3 separate regions of the Homo sapiens genome follow, and regions 2 and 3 are each linked to region 1. Evidence: promoter capture Hi-C in 16 types of primary human blood cells and fetal thymus (Javierre and others, 2016). All regions are on one chromosome and are shown on one strand. Each heading gives the region's core, a stretch centred on a gene start or on the middle of the fragment in contact. The rest is flanking DNA. Distances are from core to core; before and after follow the strand shown. Region 1 holds the start of TUBA1C (tubulin alpha 1c). Region 2 overlaps TMBIM6 (transmembrane BAX inhibitor motif containing 6). Region 3 holds the start of RND1 (Rho family GTPase 1).

The links. The method cuts DNA at HindIII sites, captures the fragments that hold promoters and counts their contacts. A CHiCAGO score of 5 or more calls a contact.
Region 2: a contact is called between a fragment that was not itself captured here and the fragment with the promoter of TUBA1C in region 1, in 2 of 17 cell types (total CD8 T cells and fetal thymus). The highest score is 6.5, in total CD8 T cells.
Region 3: a contact is called between the fragment with the promoter of RND1 here and the fragment with the promoter of TUBA1C in region 1, in 1 of 17 cell types (non-activated CD4 T cells). The highest score is 7.4, in non-activated CD4 T cells.

The regions. Positions count from the first base shown.
Region 1 is chr12:49,263,695-49,266,621 of GRCh38, reverse strand. TUBA1C (tubulin alpha 1c) reads right to left here and starts at 1,540. Exons shown (of 4, transcript NM_032704.5): 1 at 1,438-1,540. The coding sequence starts at 1,440. RefSeq lists silencers at 911-1,124, 1,479-1,738, 1,779-2,218 and an enhancer at 1,189-1,348. The HindIII fragment of the contact is 8,287 bases long and covers 817-2,927 here.
Region 2 is chr12:49,743,064-49,745,990 of GRCh38, reverse strand. The region is part of intron 1 of TMBIM6 (transmembrane BAX inhibitor motif containing 6); the gene reads right to left. Among named protein-coding and RNA genes, the nearest start is that of TMBIM6, 3.0 kb to the right of the region's middle. The HindIII fragment of the contact is 1,355 bases long and covers 879-2,233 here.
Region 3 is chr12:48,864,304-48,867,230 of GRCh38, reverse strand. RND1 (Rho family GTPase 1) reads left to right here and starts at 1,361. Exons shown (of 5, transcript NM_014470.4): 1 at 1,361-1,583; 2 at 2,361-2,448. The coding sequence starts at 1,464. RefSeq lists enhancers at 1,038-1,167, 1,428-1,547. The HindIII fragment of the contact is 16,374 bases long and covers 1-2,927 here.

The DNA of each region.
Region 1 (2,927 bases), core at 291-2,790:
CCGCCTCGGACTCCCAAAGTGCTGGGATTACAACCATAAGCCATCGCGCCCGGCCTAAGATAGTTGTTTTCAATACTTCTGGAAGCTTTATAGAAAACACTCAAGTTACGTATAATTTCACGTTTCTTGAAAACTGAACTAAGAACACGTGGTACTAGTTTACTCTGGGGTTTGCGGGTTTTTTTTTGTTTTTGGACGGAGTCTTGCTCTGTCGCCCAGGCTGGAGTGCAGTGGCGCGATCTCGGCTCACTGCAAGCTCCGCCTCCCGGGTTCACGCCATTCTCCTGCCTCAGCCTCCCGAGTAGCTGAGACTACAAGCGCCTGCCACCACGCCCAGCTAATTTTTTTTTTTTTTTTTTTAGTAGAGACGGGGTTTCACCGTGTTAGCCAGGATGGTCTCGATTTCCTGATCTCGTGATCCACCAGCCTCAGCCTCCCAAAGTGCTGGGATTACAGGCGTGAGCCACCGCGCCGGGCCGGGTTTGCGTTTTTTTGAGACAGTTTCGCTCTGTCGTCCAGACTGGAGTGCAGTAGCGCGATCTCGGCTCAGGGAAACCTACGCCTCCTGGGTTCAAGCGATTTTCCTGCCTCAGCCTCCCGAGTAGCTGGGATTACCGGCGCGCGCCACCACGCCCAGCGTTTTTTTTTGTTTTTTTTTTTTTTTAAAGTAGAGACGGGGTTTCACCATGTTCGCCAGGTTTGTCTCGAACAAGTGCTGGGATTACAGGCGTGAGCCACTGCGCCGGGCCAACTCTGGTTTTATAAGAAAATATCCTTTTGTGGACGTGTTTTTAAACCCGGCTTAAGTAGAAAGCTTCAGCTATAAACCTACCACTAGATTAACACCAGAAATGCAGGATTAGGCAACGTGAAAGTTAATTATTCCCTTCCAAGGAGGTGCCTGCCTCCATTCTCAAGTGGACTGGCGCAGTTGGAAGCTCTCCCCAGGGCAGGGCCACAGGTGACTCAGCAGCGAGTCACTGGGCGCTGGAGAGGGGGAGCCAGGAAGTGCTGCACCGTCGGTGCGGGAGCGCACGAGGGCCTCCGGGGCCCAGTTTGTAAGGCAGTAGGAAGGAGAGGTCGCTTGAGAAAACGTGGGGAGGGATTTTTAGTTTAAGTTCTTGGAGGCCAATGAGCAGGCTCCCTGACCTTCCTCCCTAGGGCAGTAGCGGGCCCTGCGGGGAAAGCCCTCACTAGGATCAAGAGGGCTTTCCATTTCCACTGATGGCCGCACCCGGGCCAGGTTTTCCGGCCCGAACTGGTGTCTGCCAAGTGAACTCGACCTTCCAGCCCGGCCGCCACAAGCCAGGTTAACCGGAGGGGCCCGGGGTAGTCTGGAGCTGTCCTGGGCGCGGCCCGAGGTGCAGGCAGTAGTTTCCGGGCCCGCCGTCCCCTGGGACGCGCACTCTTCCCCAGCCCCGAGGGAACCCCACTCACCATGACTAGAACTTGAAGGGGTCTGCGGCGGTGAAGGAGGCGAAGGGACGGCAACAAGGATCTCCCACTAACAGACTACCAAGGAGTCCGGGGGAGAAGTAGTGAAAGGGTGGCCGGCCCCGAAGGGCCTTATATACCCGGTCCCCGGCCACGTGTCGGGAGGGCGGGCCCCAGACCCCGCCCCGTGCCGCTGCGGCCCCACCTTCGAGCCCTGGCCTGCGCCCGGCCGCACCCGCGGAGTGGGGGCGCGCGGCGCTGATTGGCGGATTCAAAAGTTCAAACCAAACTCGTCGGAAGGAGCCAGGAGCAGGAAGAGGAGGAAGGGGAGGAAGGGGAGGAAGGGGAGGAAGGGGAGGAAGGGGAGGAAGGGGAGGAAGGGGAGGAAGGGCAGGAAGGGCTCTGGGGCTGGAGAATGGGCCGGGACAGGGACAGAGGTGTCCACTGGGAGGAGGGAGCAGGCCGGACGTCTGCCCCGTCCCCGGTGGGTGCGGGGGCGTCAGGTGGGCAAAACCCCAGCGAGGGGAAGCTCCAGGTAAGAGGGCGACCGCGCCCAGGAGGGAAGCCCTTACTGCACCGCCCCGGCCTCGCCCCCGGTCCCCGCGGCTGCGCTCCCTACGCCGCCGGGGAGGCGCCGACGCCGGGACCAGGCTGCGGGTTCCGCCTCGGAGTCCTGGCTGCCGGGCACCCCGGCTGGGCCCGCGGGCGCCCGCTCCCCTCGCCGCTGAGGGCTGTCCAGAGAGAGGGCTTGCTCCCCACTCTAGGTCTGAATCACCACGAACGCGCCTTAAACTCTATTCCCACCTTTTTGGTTGCTTTTCCTTACGTCCTCTTTAAATGAGCCTTTGGCTTCTAACAGTCTCCTCCCGATAGGCGCAAAAGCAGTTTTTTCAGTTCATTAGGATAATGAATAGCTTACATTTTTTGATTGCTAACTATGCAGAGTAGTTGGCTTTTTTTTTTTTTTTGAGACGGAGTCTCGTTCTGTCACCCAGGCTGGAGTGCAGTGGCGCGATCTCAGCTCACTGCAACCTCTGCCTCCCGGGTTCAAGCGATTCTCCTGCCTCAGCCTCCTGAGTAGCCGAGACTACAGGCGCGTGCCACCACACCTGGCTAAATTTTTGTATTTTTAGTAGAGACGGGGTTTCACAGTGTTAGCTAGGATGGTCTCGATCTCTTGACCTCGTGATCCGCCCGCCTCGGCCTCCCAAAGTGCTGGGAATACAGGCGTGAGCCACCGCGCCTGGCCGAGTAGTTGGCTTTTCATATCACATGATCACATTTCATCCATATGACAAACTCTATGAATTATTATCCCTAGTTTACAGATGAGGAAAGTAGAGCTCCGAGGAATTAAACCCTTCAACACTAACTTGTACTGCGTCATACTAAATGTGCCTCTCTGACCATCTCTGCCAAGGTTTCTCAGAAGCGCCTTTTATTTCTGTTGTTTTTGTTTCTCTGCAACTCTATCATGTTATCTTAGCTCATGA
Region 2 (2,927 bases), core at 307-2,806, 480 kb before region 1:
TACATCCCAATAATCCCATTGTAAACTGAAAGTATCGTAATTTATGCACTTACTACATATAACCTACCAAACATTATAGCTTAAGCCTAGCCTACCTTACCTTAAATGTGCCCAGAACGCTTACATTAGTCTGAAGTTGGGCAAAACTATCTAACGCAAAGCCTACTTTATAATAAAGTGTTAAATATCTCATGTGAAAATATCATACCAGATATCCCTAGTCTGGGAAAAGATGGAAATTCTAAATGTGCTGGGTTTTTTTTTTTGAGACAGAGTCTCGCTCTGTTGCCCAGGCTGGAGTGCAGTGGCACGATCTCAGCTCACTGCAACCTCTGCCTCCTGGGTTCAAGTGATTATCATGCCTCAGCCTCCCAAGTAGCTGGGATTACAGGTGTGTGCCACCATGCCCAGCTAATTTTTGTATTTTAAGTAGATACAGGGTTTTGCCATGTTGGCCAGGCTGGTCTCAAACTCCTGACCTCAAGTGATCTGCCCACCTCGGCCTCCCAAAGTGCTGGGATTACAGGCATGAGCCACCATGCCTGGCCTGAAGTACAGTTTCTAGCAAACAGGTAGCACTTTTGCATCATTATAAAGTAAAAAATCATTAAGTCCAATCATCATAAATTGGGGCCCGTCTGTACTTTTGTTTAAATGGCATACCTTTCTTCTAGCACATTTATACTATCTCTCTTGTCCCACAGGGCCATGGACATTTTGAGACAGCCTAATAGCCACTAAGTGATAATCTGATATGGTAAAGGATTTGATGAAGTAAATGCGCAAAAGCTTGATGCTTTCCCTGCCACTCCCAGGAGGTAGGTCAGTTCAGTTTCGGAACCATCCAAGGAATTGTTTCATTCAACTAGGACCAAGCTTTGATCTTCCCAGGTGGACACCCTAGATGTCCCCGCCTCTCCCTTAACTTGGACCCAAATCCCTGGATTAGCTAATACTGAATCCATCTCCTCCAGGGGGCTGCCTCAAAACCAAACCAGTAACTGGAGATGAAATGCCTACTGCCTTCAGTAAATTATTTTTTGTACCAAACGTTGACACTACTTCATCTCCCTCTCTATAACGTTTGACAGATACTGAATCCTAAGAAGGCCCCAAAATCCTAAATACATAATCTTCTTCCAGTATAAACCAGTAATCCCTCCCTAATAACACCATATTTAGCCCAAATGGGGAGCACACATAAATTAAGACAAACAGCATACCCACTTCACCCTCACTGGTGAAGCTCCTTTTTCACGTGTTTTGGATTCCAGTTAATTGTGCAGAAACTTCTCACCCTGAGGGCAGAGCTTGCATCTGGTTCAGCTCAGCTATCCCCAAGATTTAAGCACTACAAAGTCTCTAGAGCAAATTTAGACCCTATTATCAGATCAAGAGTGCTGTAACCTCAAATCAACATTCCCCAGCTGGCTCAGAGTGGAACCTACCTCAAGGGGTCACTTAGGTAACCTTTAAGTCAAGGAGACAGCCTTTCTCTCCTTGGTCTCGAACACCATCTTTGGAAAACAAAATGTGTATAAAAACTACGAAGGGCTGCATGCAGTTTGGTTAGAAACTCTGGGGGAACAAAACAGAGTGGTAGAAGACATTTCTACCAGATTCTACAACCAGGTCAAAGTAGTAAAGGAAAAAAAATCAGAAGTTAGAGCATCAGAATATTCAATGGTTTCTCTAGAGAAAATTAATACCCTTGGGCAGTTTACGAAATAAAATGAAACTCGTCAGGCCAGCAGTAGTACCTTCTATACTAATACTCCTGACTATATTTATATAAAATTTATAACTTTTAAGGTGCTTTTATATATGTATCACCTTCAATCCTCACACATCAACCCACAAGGAAAGGGAAAGATTAGGCCCATTTTATACATCTTTTTTAAGTTCAAAAAGGCAATGTAATAGTGGCAAGAGGACAGGATTTGGTGTCACAAGTGCTGCCACTTTCTACTATATAACCTAGGAAAAATCATTTTACCTAAGGTTATTTCAGCTTCCTCATCTGTAAGATAACGATGATGATCAATACCTGCTCTACTGAATGCCAATAAGAAAATCTGTGTGAAATCAACGTAAAGTACTAAAACAAACATTAGTATTGATTTGACCAACATTAGAAAGTTAAATAGCAGAGCCAGAACCAGATTTGGGGTCTTCTGACCACTATAGTCTAGTGCTCTTTTTACTATTCCATCCTACAGTAGAAAAATAAGCTTTCATTTATATAAGCTTTCAAAAGTTTCAGCCATAGGTGAAAACAAATCTTTAAAACAAAAAAACCCTCCCAAAACATACATTGATTCCTATGACATTTTTCTGCATTTTCAGCATTTGTATAAAGAGCGCGAACTATATCTATAATCAGGGAAAATAACTTGAAAATGCTAAGTATCTAGATTAATTTTACCTTTTCTTATTCTTCAGGAGAGATGACTCTTTTTCTTTAGGAAAGGATTACACCTGTAATCCTAGCAATTTGGGAGGTCAAGGCGGGCGAATCGCTTGAGGTGTGGAGTTCGAGACCAGGCTGGACAACTTGGCAAAAGCCCGTCTCTACTAAAAATACAAAAATTAGCTGGGCATGGTGGTGCGCGCCTGTCATCTCAGCTGCTTAGGAGGCTGAGGCATGAGAATTGAATGCACCAGGGAGGCGGAGGTTGCAGTGAGCCGAGATTGCACCACTGCACTCCAGCTTGGGTAAGGGAGTGAGACTGTCTCAAAAAAAAAACATAATAATAATAATAAATAAATAAATCGCTTGAGTTCTGGAGTTGGTAAGCCTGGGCAACATGGTGATACCCCATCTCCACAAAAAATACAAAAATTAGCTGGAGCTGGTGACGTCCACCTGTGGTCCTAGCTACTCAGGAGGCTGGGGTGGATCACCTAAGCCAGGAGAGGTCAAGGTT
Region 3 (2,927 bases), core at 112-2,611, 400 kb after region 1:
CGTTAACATGGAACTGGACCTGTGCCTGATTCATCCAGGAAGCTGAGCCTAGGCCGCAGAACAAACACCCCTAAGCAGCTTCTGCTAGGCATGGGTGAGAGGCTGTCTGGCCAAACAGTGACTGTGTTTGCTTTGTCTTCTTCCTCTCTCCCACCCCCACTTGCCAGAGTCCCTCATTTCTCTCTGCCCATCACTGGGTCAGGTGCTGTGTGTTTTTTTTATGGATGACTCTAGAAAGTTTTCTCTTTCTCTTTCTCTCTCTCTGTCTTTGGTGGTGAAGGTGATTCTTGAAGAAGAGAAGGCTTTAAAAGGGGCACAGGCCGGGCACGGTGGCTGACGCCTATAATCCCAGCACTTTGGGAGGCCAAGGCGGGCGGATCGCCTGAGGTCGGGAGTTCGAGACCAGCCTGACCAACATGGAGAAACCCCGTCTCTACTAAAAATACAACATTAGCTGGGCATGGTGGTGCATGCCTGTAATCCCAGCTACTCGGGAGGCTGAGGCAGGAGAATCGCTTGAATCCGGGAGATGGAGGTTGCAGTGAGCTGAGATCGTGCCATTGCACTCCAGCCTGGGCAACAAGAGCGAAACTCCATCTCAAAATAAATAAATAAATAAATAAATAAATAAATAAATAAATAAATAAATAAATAAAAGAGGTACAGCAGGAGCTGATATTGGGAGGGGAAATAAAGGGAAGTAAGAACTGGTTTGGATGGGAATTAGAAAAAACAAAAAAGTCAGACATCAGGCCAGGCGCTGTGGCTCATGTCTGTAGTCCCAGCACTTTGGGAGGCTGAGACAGGCGGATTGCTTGAGCCCAGAAGTTCAAGACCAGCCTGGATAACATGGTGAGACCCCTGTCTCTATTTAAAACAAAAGATGTAAGGAAAAAAAAGAAAAAAAATGTCAGAGAAGTTCTGGGCCACCTCCCCCATCCCCTACTCCTCCAAAACACACACACACACACACACCTGTCTATAGTCTAAGCAGGTCCTGCTTTTGTAACCCACCCGGGACAGTCCCTGCAACTCCAGCCTGACCTCACTTCCTGCTTCCATAGCTAGTTTGTTTTTCTGACACTTATTGGTAGACACTCCAGATCATTTCATTTTGCTTCCAGTACCCTTTCCACTTCCTAATACAAATGCAAAACAACCTGGGAATCCCCTTTCAGGGGGAAACAACGGTGCAGCTTTAAGAGAAAGAGAAGGGAGGAAGGGGGCGCTGACTCAGATCCTCAGATCCATTGGCTGCTGGAGGGAATCCCACCTCAGGGATTGGGCGTAACAGAGTCCGCCTCCTCTTGTGATTGGCTCAGCCAGAAAAATAAAAGGCGGCTGTGCCGGCCTCCTCCTCAGTTGGAGGGAGGCAGGGAATCTGGCTTGATTGGCGTGCTGAGACGCACCTGGCGCAACCCTCCCTTCTGAATCGAAGTTCAAGTCCCGCGGACACTGCAACCATGAAGGAGAGACGGGCCCCCCAGCCAGTCGTGGCCAGATGTAAGCTCGTTCTGGTCGGGGACGTGCAGTGTGGGAAGACCGCGATGTTGCAAGTGTTAGCGAAGGATTGCTATCCAGAGGTGAGCTGCCCGCCCGCCCGCTGGCCGGCTTTTCTCCCTGCCTGCCCGCCTTGGGGTAGATTTCCACCTGCTCAGGAGACGTGGCTCCCCCAGCCCCAGCCCATCCTCAGCCGCTTTCTGAGGCTTTACCATCCTCAGCTGCTTTTTGGCTGGAGGACTGCCCTGCCTTAGCTTCCCCTGAGACCTGTTCCACTTCTGCCGCCCCGCTGGCTCCTCCTCACCTCTTCACCCAGAGGACCCATCAGATCCCCTCCACCTTCCTGCGTCCCTGGAGTCTGCTCTCAGGTGAGGGCACTGGAGGCATTTGAAAGTCTGGGGTTTCTTCTTGACGTAATCCCTGCCTATCCGCTCACCTGCTCCTCAAAGGCTCTATGCCTGTGCCTTCAGGCAGGCTTCTGCAGCCCCTCTGTTCACCTGGCCGGGAGGGGTTTGAGAGGAGATGAGCTAGGATTGGCTTTGGCCTGTGGCTCTCTCAAATTGGGAAACACAAATCTGGGGATGGGAGGAATCTGTGTGTGTGTGTGTCCCTGATCGCCTAGGATATGGGGGGCTTACCCCTGGTGTGGTGGTGTGGGGGGGTGTCATTCACATTTCTCACTGCTGCAGAGCAAAGTGCCTGGTCCTCCACAGTCCCTTCCCTCCTGCCCCAGGCATCTCCTCTGGTTTCTTGTCTCCTGTGACTTTACTGTCTCTCTGGTGAGTGCGTGTGTAGCCAGCACTAACCAGGGGATCTGAGGGTAGGGGTGCATGGGGTGAATGTTTCCTCTCTTTTCACAGACCTATGTGCCCACCGTGTTCGAAAATTACACAGCCTGTTTGGAGACAGAGGAACAGAGGGTGGAGCTTAGTCTCTGGGATACCTCAGGTAAGAATTCTGCTCCAAATACCCCTTTCCCACCCCTACTGGTCTGCTGTGTAGCTGCTGTCTTTTAGAAATTGTTTTCCCCTTTGGTGGGGAGAAGTGAAAAAAGAGGATCTGAAGACTCATTAGTTGTGGGGAGGGCTGACAGTTGGTGGACTCAGTTGCATGGTCCAAGGGTGCAGAGTGGGTGAACCCCAGGAGCCACTCTCTTCCCTGGGTCTGGTTCCACCCTTTAGAGGGCTGGGATGGTGAGGTGAAGGGACCCATGAATAGTCCTGGGGGTGGGCAGTAAAACAGGACTTCTCCATTTCCATTCCCTACCACCCAACATGCACGCGTACACACATGCACACACACGCGCGCGCGCGCACACACACACACACACACACACACACACACACCTTTTACTTCCCCAGAGCAAAGCCAAATAAGAGGCAAGAGGCAGTGCTGCTGGAGGCAGCGTGGTTGGGGCGGAGAGACAA